Linked DNA regions of Homo sapiens: all the other regions are linked to region 2. The links are contacts of gene promoters, found by promoter capture Hi-C in blood cells and fetal thymus (Javierre and others, 2016). All regions are on one chromosome and are shown on one strand. The core of a region is centred on a gene start or on the middle of the fragment in contact, and the rest is flanking DNA. Distances in the headings are between cores, read along the strand shown. Region 1 overlaps DIAPH1 (diaphanous related formin 1). Region 2 holds the start of PCDHGB6 (protocadherin gamma subfamily B, 6). Region 3 has its middle 4.8 kb from the start of PCDHB15.

Region 1 (3,521 bases), core at 963-3,462, 180 kb before region 2:
CAAAGTATATGTGCATGTGACTTACTTTGTTGTCCTCAGTGAGGAACACCGAATAAGGAGGATATTCAGTGAGTGTCCATTAGTGGTAAGTCTTGGAAAGTTTTGATGAGTACAAGATTTCCTAAGACCTGTATATTGCATAGATATGTGATCTCAGATTCAAATAGAGACTAGTGGCAGGCCTAGCTTAATTAAAAGCTTAGGTTTAAAATCCTTAGCACAGGGCCTGGTACATAGTAAGCACTCAACTGGTACTACTGTTGTTATTTTTCACTGAATCTTTCAGTTTGTCTCTTAATATTCCAAGTGCATTAAGAGTCTTAAGAGTATGGTCTGTCAAGATAATCTCTTGGCCTTGGATTGCAAGTTTAAATGTCTCTTGGGCCAGGCAGGTAGTATAAATAAGGTAAGCAGGCTAGATAGAAGATGGCAAAAGAAGTGGGGAATGTGGCAAATTGAAGAGAGGCTTTTGGCATTTTTGTTAGAAAAGCCAGCCACAACTCAGTTCTAGTAGGTGGTTGCATTCCAGTTGGGAATACTTGCCTAGTAGTGCCAGATATTTCTATTTTTCAAAAGAAGTCAGCAATCCGTAATTTTAAAAAAATAATAAATCTTGAATAACATAAAATATCCTAGTCACTATTTGAATTTCCCCAATTAGGTCATTTTTTTAAAAACCAGTTTGTTCAAATCACAATTCCAAATATAGTCCACTGTACTGGTATTCTCAATTTTCATTTAAACTATAGGTTTCCCTTCCTCTTTTTTTTGAGATGGAGTATTGCTCTGTCGCAAGCAGAGCAAGACTTGCAACCTCCGTCTTCTGGGTTCGAGCAGTTCTCCTGCCTCAGCCTCCTGAGTAGCTGGGATTACAGGTGGACACCACCATGCCCGGCTAATTTTTGTAGCTTGAGTAGAGATAGGGTTTCATCATGTTGGCCAGGCTAGTCTCGAACCCCTGACCTTGTGATCCACCCACCTCAGCCTCCCAAAGTGCTGGGATTACGGGCATGAGCCACTGCACCTCTTTTTCTTTTATCCTTACTATTGATACTAAAAAAAAATTGTTGAAAAAACCGTTTGTTTGACCTGTAGAGTTTCCCACAACATGAAATTCGATGGATGAATCCTTTGGTGCTGTTTTACTAGAGATCTGTATCTTTATGTAAGGTCCCCCAGATTTAAAATGTTGAGCTAGCCAAGTGAAACATTTTATCTTTGGGTTTGACTTAGCTTGAGGGCCACCATTTTGTAACTTCTGTGTTCAGTTTATCTGCAAGAGGAAAAATGCATCTGGCTGGCAGTGGTGGCTCACACCTGTAATCCCAGCACTTTGGGAGGCCGAGGTGGGTGGATCACGAGGTCAGCAGTTCAAGACCAGCCTGGCCAAGATGGTGAAACCCCGTCTCTACTAAAAATACAAAAATTAGCTGAGTGTGGTGGCGGGCGCCTGTAATCCCAGCTACTGCCAGGAGGCTGAGGCAGGAGAATCACTTGAATCTGGGAGGTGGAGGTTGCAGTGAGCCAAGATTGTGCCATTGCACTCCAGCCTGGGTGACAGAGTGAGACTCCGTCTCAAAAAAAAAAAACCCACCAGGAATTAAGTCACAGAAACTTCAGATTAATTTTGCTGCTTGCAGAAGAAACAGAATACATCCCCCCATCCATATTTTTCTCAATTCAAATAACATTCTGGAATTATTAGGGCTAAATTTGTGCACACCAAGGTACTAGGCTTGGACACATGGTTGTTATATATGTAGAAAGATCAAGCAGAGCCTTTCCCCAAACATACATCAGATTATGTCTGTCAGGGGGCCTCTGCTTTATCATAGAGTTTCCAGTTCTTTCTTCGTGGGAAAGGAGTTTGTACAGGGACTGAGTTAACCAGGGGTAATGGGTTTGTAGGCCCTAGAGTTGGTGCAGAGTTTGTTGCTGTTGATTTTGCTTGTGTTTAGATTATGCCATTCATCCAGTGCTTCAGTCTGAAGAGATTTTTAAGGTCCATCCTTGATGCAGAAAGCATTGTGTGTGGTTTTCTTTCAATAATACAAAATAAATCTTTCATTTATATTGAGTCCATTTTTCTTAGAGAAAAAAAGTGTGTATATGTCTATAGAGATTTATACTAAAATGTTAACTATACTTATCTTTGAGGAATTTTCATCAGCTGTAATAGCTTAAATTTCTAGGGATCAAAAAGATTTATTTACTTAAGCATTTTACATGCTCAACTCTTCACTAAGCATACTAATATTAAACACTAAAAATTTGTAAAGAATTTGAGGCAATTTTGTTTTTTCTCTTTTTTCTCCCTCTCCTAGCTGGATATGAACCTGAATGAGGAGAAACAGCAACCTTTGAGGGAGAAGGACATCATCATCAAGAGGGAGATGGTGTCCCAATACTTGTACACCTCCAAGGCTGTGAGTCCTGGGACAGGTACCCATGACATGGGAGACTGTGCCCTTGTCTTGGACCTGTTTTTTTTTTGCCAATTTTATGTAACATTTTATGTCTGCATCAATTCTGTTTCATTCCATTATATAAGCCTGTTCACTTTTTACTGTCTTATTTAGTTACCGTTCTTACATACATTTTGCCTGGTTAAATTTTCATGAAGTATGTAAATATAGGGAATGGGATAGGCAGTTCTAAGTCTCATTTATGTTGGTGGTATGTGAGATGGGTATCTGCCCTGATAAACGTGGCCTGACATGGTGGCTTACTCCTGTAATCTGAGCACTTTGGGAGGCTGAGGCAGAAGGATCACTTGAGCCCAGGAGTTTGAAATCAGCCTGGGCAACGTAGTAAGACCTTGTCTCTGCTAAAAATAAAAAATAAAAATAAAGTATAAACTCTATTGACTAATACTAGTCCTTAATTTATGACTGGGTCCACCATTACTAATCTCTGTCTATGCCTTCTGTCTAGGGCATGAGCCAGAAGGAGAGCTCTAAGTCTGCCATGATGTATATTCAGGAGTTGAGGTCAGGCTTGCGGGATATGCCTCTGCTCAGCTGCCTGGAGTCCCTTCGTGTGTCTCTCAACAACAACCCTGTCAGGTGAGGATTCTGAGGAGGTAACAGGAGTAGGAGCCAAATGTTGGACTTCACTGGTGGTGATTGAAGATCAAAGGAGCCAGGGAAGCATGAGAATAGTCTGAATTGGGAGTAGTAAGTTGTCAGGATAAACTTTGTTTGGCAAATAAGTATTTATTGGTTTGATATTGCATTGCCTCTCTCTGTTCCTTACAGTTGGGTGCAAACATTTGGTGCTGAAGGCTTGGCCTCCTTATTGGACATTCTTAAACGACTTCATGATGAGAAAGAAGAGACTGCTGGGTGAGGACTTCCAAGTCTTTGCAACTTCAAGTTGGAGAGTCACAGGGGACTTGGCTATTTGCTCTGAAGGAGAAAGTAGCAGTTAAATGTAAAGTTGTGGGCTAGGGGAATGTACTGTTAGCCAAGAAGGGGTTTATCATAGTGGTGGCTAGAGGATGAATGATGATTATAGATACA
Region 2 (3,343 bases), core at 176-2,675:
TCTGCTCTCGGTCCAGGGCTCCATCTGTCACCAGTTTGTAGTAGTTATTGGAAGAAGAATAAATCTTGAATGGAATGTCTGTTTCTATATTACACCTGACTTCTCCATTTCCTCCGAAATCCAGATCCCGTGTTTTGAAGAGGGCAACAACCATTCCTGGAGGTGAATTCTCCAAAATCTGATCAGAGAGAGAAGTGATGATTATTTCTGGGCTGTTGTCGTTTTCATCAAGGATTTCTATGATTACTTTACACTGGGTAGAGAGACCACCTCCGTCCTTCGCTTCCACTTCCATGGTGTACCTTTCTACATCTTCAAAATCAAATGACTGGTTATTCTTAATCATACCTGTTTTCTCATCCAATGAGAACATATGTTTTGTGCTCTGGGCAGTGCTTCGGAAGTAGTAGTTTATCTCAGCATTGACCCCCTCATCCTGGTCAGTGGCTGTCACTTGCAACACAGGGGACCCAGGGGGCAGATTTTCACTAAGACTAATTCTATATTCGTCTCTGCTGAAAACCGGGGGGTTATCATTGGTATCCTTGACAGAAATTTCTATGTGAGCGGTGGCACTTCTTGGTGGGTCCCCTCCGTCCAAGGCAGTCAATATCAAGCTATGAGATCTCTGTTCTTCCCGGTCTAGGAGTTTCTCCAGAGATAACTCTGGGTATTTGCCACCATCGGAATTAACTCTAACCATTAATGAAAAATAAGGATTAGAGTTTATCTTATAATCTTTAATTGAGTTTATGTTTATATCAGGATCCGTGGCAGGGTCAAGCGATAGTCGTGTACCAGCGGATGCAGATTCGAAAATTTCTAAATGTATTTCCTTTTTATCAAATTGAGGGGCGTGGTCATTAACATCCTCAATCACCACAATGACATGAAAAATATTTAAAGGATTTTCCACCACAGCTTCCAATTGCAACTCACATCTTCTTCTCTCTTTGCATATTTGCTCACGGTCTATTCGGTTCTTCACAAGTAAGTCCCCGCTCTCCGCGTCTACGCTGAAGTGCAGCTTCTCCGCGCTCACTCGCAGCTTGCGAGCCGACACATCCAGGACACTGAGCCCTAGATCCTTAGCGAGGTTCCCCACCACCGAGCCCTTGGCCAGCTCCTCCGGAATCGAGTAGCGGATCGGCTCACTCAGGGTGGGGTAGAACAAAGGCAGCAGCAAAGGAAATAGCACCTGCCGCGGGCCGGCCCGGCGCCTCTGCGCGCAGCTCCCTCCCATCGTTCGCTCGGGTTCTCGCTGGGTCCCCGCTTTTCCAGTTGGAGAAAGTGCACTCTACCGCGCTAAAAGAGCATTCGGCCCAGGACAGGAGGAGTCCCGGGTCTCGGAGCTGGCAATCCGCTGTGCTGGGAAAGGTCTGCGCAGCCGGGAGGCTCTGTGTGGGAGCTGGTTTTCTTCTTTCTGTTGTTGGCTGCGCAGGGAATCCCAGGCCAGAGGCTGACGGATCCCCGGCGTCAGCGCTTGCTCTGCACTGGCCGACAGCGGCGCCCAGAGGCTCCGTGCGGGACAGCAGCCCGGTTTTTCATTTTGAATTCGGTCTCCGAAATGTATATATTCTTCGAAAATGCAGGTGTACATCCCCCTCAAATTTTGCTCTCACCATAATATTATAGTAGATATTTCTATGCTTTGTGTTTTAAATAAATCTATTATGCACAATTTCAAACTTATACAACAGTAGGGAGTATATATAGTGAACCTTCACATAGCCATCACCCCACCTTCAACAATGATCACCACAAAGCCAATCTTTGTTTAATATATACTGCGCTCCCCCATTATTTTTAAGTAATACGAGATATAGAATGTCAACCAATGCTTCTTTTTAAGATGAGACATTAAGGTCAAGAATTTTATCTTTCAGCTTATGTTCTACAATCTGTTACCAATGCACAATAAGTTAAGTCCTACATAGCCTAAGAAAAACAGAAATAAAGATTTTCCATACTCCATTCAGTCATCTGTCTGGTGAGCCTCGTGTTCTGGTTTTAAGGGCAAGAGACATTTTTGTGGTATCGAATAGTAACTACCTACCATGACATACAAGCCTTCATGGATATCTGTTATGTTTTCCCCAAATTAACATACATTTCAATATTTATAAATACTAAGTATGAAGGCTACTCCTCAGAACAGAAATTGTAACAATTTTCTTGTTGCATGGTTAAAAATATGAGCCTGAAGTATGCTTTATTTTTTTTGCTACCCACTTAAGGGGGAAAACGTGTTTGAAATAATTAAAATGTCTGTATGTCATAAAGGATTCCCAGACACTTCAGCTTTTTTTTCTTAAAAATAAAGCAACTGAAACCCAAATAATTACAAACAAATAAAACAATTCTTCATTTCCACAGAAATGCCAGCAGTCATCAGTGTATCTATGGATCACATGTTTAGCATAGAATTTTGAGTCAACTTCAAAGCTTATTTTCAAATGTCTTGTGAAATGTTATTTACTATTTGAAACAACACTATGTTTAAAATAACATTAAATAATACATTATTCTCTTCCTTATAGCTAAAAACAGTAAAATAGTTTTAGAATCTTCCCAGCAGTTCCTGAGAATATTTTCTTAAATTATATCTGATATGCAAGTTCATTTCTAGACTCAAAAGTTGGAGAATTGAGCCAGAAATAATATATAAGTGAGAGAAATATTTTTAATTCCTTGTTTTGTCATTTCACAGTGTCCAGTCTTAGAAACTTCTCTTGAGCAAGCATATACTATAGAAAAGAAGAATGTCCTACTATTCTCCATAATTTAACATTAAAGCATTAGGAAATTAAGACCTTTGAAGATATGAGAATAAAAGATGTGACAACTTTCACCATTAAAGGGAAAAAATTGGTTTACTAGGGTTTGGAAGTGGATAACTGAAGTTTGAATCTTCGTCAGAAAATATCTGTAAACACAAACAGACTTTACACACTTGTGATCTGAAAAATATAACCTCAAAGAGGTGTTTTCCTGTCATAGAAATGGAAGAATAGAAGCAATAAATCTGGGCTTTCAGCTGTTTCTCTAAGAAGAATACATTTACCTTTTTATCAGTTTACCCTTACAAACATAGTATGACCTGAATAAATGATCGTAGGAGTAAGAATTTGCTGGGTGAGGTGGTTCACACCTCACCCAGTGCTTTGGGAAACTGAAGCAGGAAGATCGTTTGAGACCAGTCTGGGCAACATAGCTTGCTAGCCCTCCCACCTCAGTCCTAGCTACTGTGAAGGCTGAGGTGGGAGGATTGCATAAGCCCAGGAGATTGAGACTGCAGTAAGCTTTACCCACACCACTGCATTCCACCCTGGACAACAGAATG
Region 3 (3,456 bases), core at 367-2,866, 170 kb after region 2:
TAACAGAGACTTAATATATTGATAAAGGACTAACCTTTATCCTAAATGCTCTGAAAAATCTACAGATTCTTAATTGAATCCAAAACCATTTACAAAGTTGGACTTTTCCTCCCATCATTCACAGCGCCCGGATGCTTAGGGATAACAGACTTCAGGAATTTGAATTCATTTGTCCCGGAGCCTCGCGTCAGAAACACTTCATACTTGTACCTCTGGGATAGGGTCCTGGTGTCGCTCACGTCCACCAGATGCCTGGAAAGGGGTCCTCGGGCACCGAGCAGCGACCCAATGAGGCCTCCCTGCTCCTCCTGCACAGCCGCACCGCCACGAACAGGAGCACCGAGAAGAGGAAGAACGACGACACCAAGGCCAACGCCACCACCAGGTAGACGGTGAGCAAGTCGGCCTGGGCCTGGGCCGGGGCCGCTTCAGGGAACGGCAAGTAGGGCAGGGAGAAGCCATCCACCAGGAGCACGTGCAGCGTGGCGGTGGCCGAGCGCGGAGGCTCGCCATTGTCCTTGACCAGGACCATCAGCCTGTGCTTGGCTGTGTCACGCTCGCTCAGCAGCCTGTCAGTGCATTGTGCGCCCACACGCCGAACAGCCCTGGCTCCGTGGCCTTGAGCAACTGCTACGACAGCCAGGCGTTCTGGCCCGAGTCACCGTCCACCGCCACCACCTTGGTCACCAGGTAGCCCGGCTCGGCGGCCCGCCCGGGGCATCAGCTCGGTGCAGGGCGCGGAGCCGTTCTGCAGCGGGAACAGCACGAAGAGTGAGCTGTCGTTGGCGTCCAGCACCAGCACGCGCACCAGCGCCTCGCTGCTCAGCGCCGTGGAGCCGCGGTCTGAAGCGCCCACGCGGAACTCGAACTCCTGCAGGGCCTCGTAGTCCAGCGACCTGAGGGCGAACAGGTGGCCGTTGTCTGTGTTGATGGAGACCAGGGAGGCGAGGGGCAGGTGCGGGTTCCGGGGCGGCAGCAGCGAGTAGGTGACCTGGATGTTGGTGCCCGAGTCTCTGCGGTGCTGACGCTGCCAATATGCAGGGCGGGGCTGTTGTTCTCGCGGACGAACAGGGTGTAGGAGGTTTAGGTGAAGGTGGGGGCTTTGTCATTGACGTAGGAGACCAGCACCGTTATGTTGTACTCGGTTTTCAGCCTAGGAGTCCCCAAGTCCGTGGCTGTGTTGGTGATGTTGTACTCGGCTCTAATCTCTTTGTCCAGTGGTCCTTCTGTTAACAGCCAGTATAAATTCTCAACGGAAGGTTTCGGCATGAACGGAACATCATTTTGAATTGATCAAACTATTCTTCCATTTTTCCCAGAATCGCGGTCTTGAATGCTGAAAAGAGCTGCAACGGTCTCAGGAGAATTTTCGCGGATGGGGCTTGTGAATGAAGCCATGGTCAGTTCCGGAGCGTTATCGTTGATATCTACCACCTGTATTATGACAGTGCATTTTCCAGAAAGACCTGCCCCATCAGAGGCTTTAATATCCACCTGATATGACACAATTTTTTCAAAATCTAGTTTTCTGATTATTTTAATTTCTCCCCTTCGTTCATTAAGTGCAAATGTCTTAGAAATCTCTTCATCACCATAAAAAATGAGTAGAATATCTCACCATTAATTCCCATGTCTGAATCTCTAGCGGAAACAGTGGCAACAAGGGAATCCAGGGGGCTGTTTTCTGATATCTGCACCTGATAGAGTGGCTACACAAACTCAGGTGCATTGTCATTGATGTCCAAGATTTCAATGAGGACCAGAGCAGTCCCAGTTCTGGGAGGAGTCCCGCCATCTACTGCCATGAGAGTTAACCTGATCTCAGCCTGCTCCTCCCGATCCAGGGCTTTGTCCAGAACCAGCTCTGGGTATTTTCTGCCTTCACTGCCATTTTGGGTGAGAGCGTGGACATGGGAGTAGGGGTAGATGGTGTAGTTTTGGATGTTATTGATGGCCACATCCAAATCTTGTGTATTTTTCAGAGGAAACACAGTTCCTGGAGGAGTATTTTCCATGATTTCAAAATAATTTCTGCTTCTGGGAATACAGGGGAATTGTGTTTATGTCACTGACCAAAAGTTTAAACCTCCAAAGGTTCTTCCAGTAACACTTGGAATTGCAGCACACAAGGCTCAGTGATTCTACACAATTCTTCCCGGTCCAATGTCTCATTTACTTGCAGGTCTCCGGTCTGAAGTTTCAGCTGAAAATATTTTTTGTTATTGTTAAAAATGACCCGAGGCCTCCACTGGTATATTACTCTTACTTCTAGCCCTGGGTCCTTTGTTAGATTGGCCACAAAAGAACCACTTTCTGTTTCTTCTGCTACAGTATATTCCACTCCGCACAGTATATTCCACTCCGCACAAGTCTGAGACAGCATAACAAAGAGAAGCAGCACTTGCCTTATTCTAGGAAAGTGCTCCTTTTCAGCCTCCATTTCTCCAACACCAACAGCATTCAGGGTCCGGATGCCTATGTTGCGTTGGTAGGCAATCTGCTCTGGGAATCAATCCTTGCAGCAACGCAATTTTCGGTTAAGAAAGCCTCTTCTCTTTGATGGATCGAATGAGTGCTAGCACAGTAGTTGAAGAGATTCATTCTAACATTTCAGGAGTGTAAACTTAAGTGATATACTAGCTAAATCTGGTTTATTATGCAAACTCAATAGGTAGCCTAAGAGTTGTGGATAACTTATTTGTGAATATTGCCTAAGGACTGTGAGCTTGTTATGTTGACTTGTTACAGTATCTAAAATAATTTATAAAGAGCATCACCATCTATTGTTAATACTGAGATACACACATGTTGAAGCTGAGAGTCACTGAGACCTTGAAGAGGGAGCCAGCCAAGATCATGGATATAAAGGCTGAAGTTAAAGTAAAAAGTAAAATGCAGAAGAAAATATGTTAAGTTCACCTGAAATAGCAGGTTAAGCATATTCCCAACTGGAGAAGATCTCAACTCATTTTTAGTAAGCAATTATGTATCTCTTGTGGATTCATTGGAATACTGAAACCCTAGCATGGAACTGAAATTTTTACTTCTGAGGAAAGAGAAAACATTTTGGGGGAGGAGACTTGGGGGTCTTCCCAACTGTGCCAACTTTAGCCAATGTTTTACTCACAATGTTTAAATAATAGACACTATTATGTGTTGTGGCATTCTAATTATCTAGCTAACTGAGAAAACTAAGGATGAGCCAAGTGTAAGAACTGTGGTTCATATTGGTTTCTCTTAAGGCATAAATAACTCAAATCAACATTCTACTTTAGAATGTTTTCTTCTATACAAACAAGTTCGATTAATTAAACTTTCAAAATATGCCAGTCATGGGCAAAATCTGATGGACAAATTTCCTTATAGAAATATTTTGGTCATGGGTCCAAATTCACTATTATGGATTTACATGTCCAAGAAAATGTGTCCTGAATGTCTATGCATTTTTTAATATTA

Evidence for each region. Contacts are between HindIII fragments. The CHiCAGO score rates a contact against its expected background, and 5 or more counts as called.
Region 1: a contact is called between a fragment that was not itself captured here and the fragment with the promoter of PCDHGB6 in region 2, in 1 of 17 cell types (M2 macrophages). The highest score is 5.4, in M2 macrophages.
Region 3: a contact is called between a fragment that was not itself captured here and the fragment with the promoter of PCDHGB6 in region 2, in 4 of 17 cell types (endothelial precursors, erythroblasts, total B cells and 1 more). The highest score is 8.6, in endothelial precursors.

What each region holds. Positions count from the first base shown.
Region 1 is chr5:141,583,029-141,586,549 of GRCh38, reverse strand. It overlaps DIAPH1 (diaphanous related formin 1), which reads left to right. Exons shown (of 28, transcript NM_005219.5): 4 at 2,325-2,426; 5 at 2,935-3,065; 6 at 3,258-3,344. Among named protein-coding and RNA genes, the nearest start is that of DIAPH1-AS1, 26 kb to the right of the region's middle. The HindIII fragment of the contact is 4,023 bases long and covers 201-3,521 here.
Region 2 is chr5:141,406,103-141,409,445 of GRCh38, reverse strand. PCDHGB6 (protocadherin gamma subfamily B, 6) reads right to left here and starts at 1,425. Exons shown (of 4, transcript NM_018926.3): 1 at 1-1,425. The coding sequence starts at 1,243. The region is part of intron 1 of PCDHGA1 (protocadherin gamma subfamily A, 1); the gene reads right to left. All of the region lies in intron 1 of PCDHGA2 (protocadherin gamma subfamily A, 2), which reads right to left. All of the region lies in intron 1 of PCDHGA3 (protocadherin gamma subfamily A, 3), which reads right to left. It also overlaps PCDHGB1, PCDHGA4, PCDHGB2, PCDHGA5, PCDHGB3 and PCDHGA6, and 6 more genes. RefSeq lists an enhancer at 967-1,016. The HindIII fragment of the contact is 5,535 bases long and covers 1-2,447 here.
Region 3 is chr5:141,238,907-141,242,362 of GRCh38, reverse strand. It overlaps PCDHB@ and the pseudogene PCDHB19P. Among named protein-coding and RNA genes, the nearest start is that of PCDHB15, 4.8 kb to the left of the region's middle. The HindIII fragment of the contact is 3,709 bases long and covers 1-3,456 here.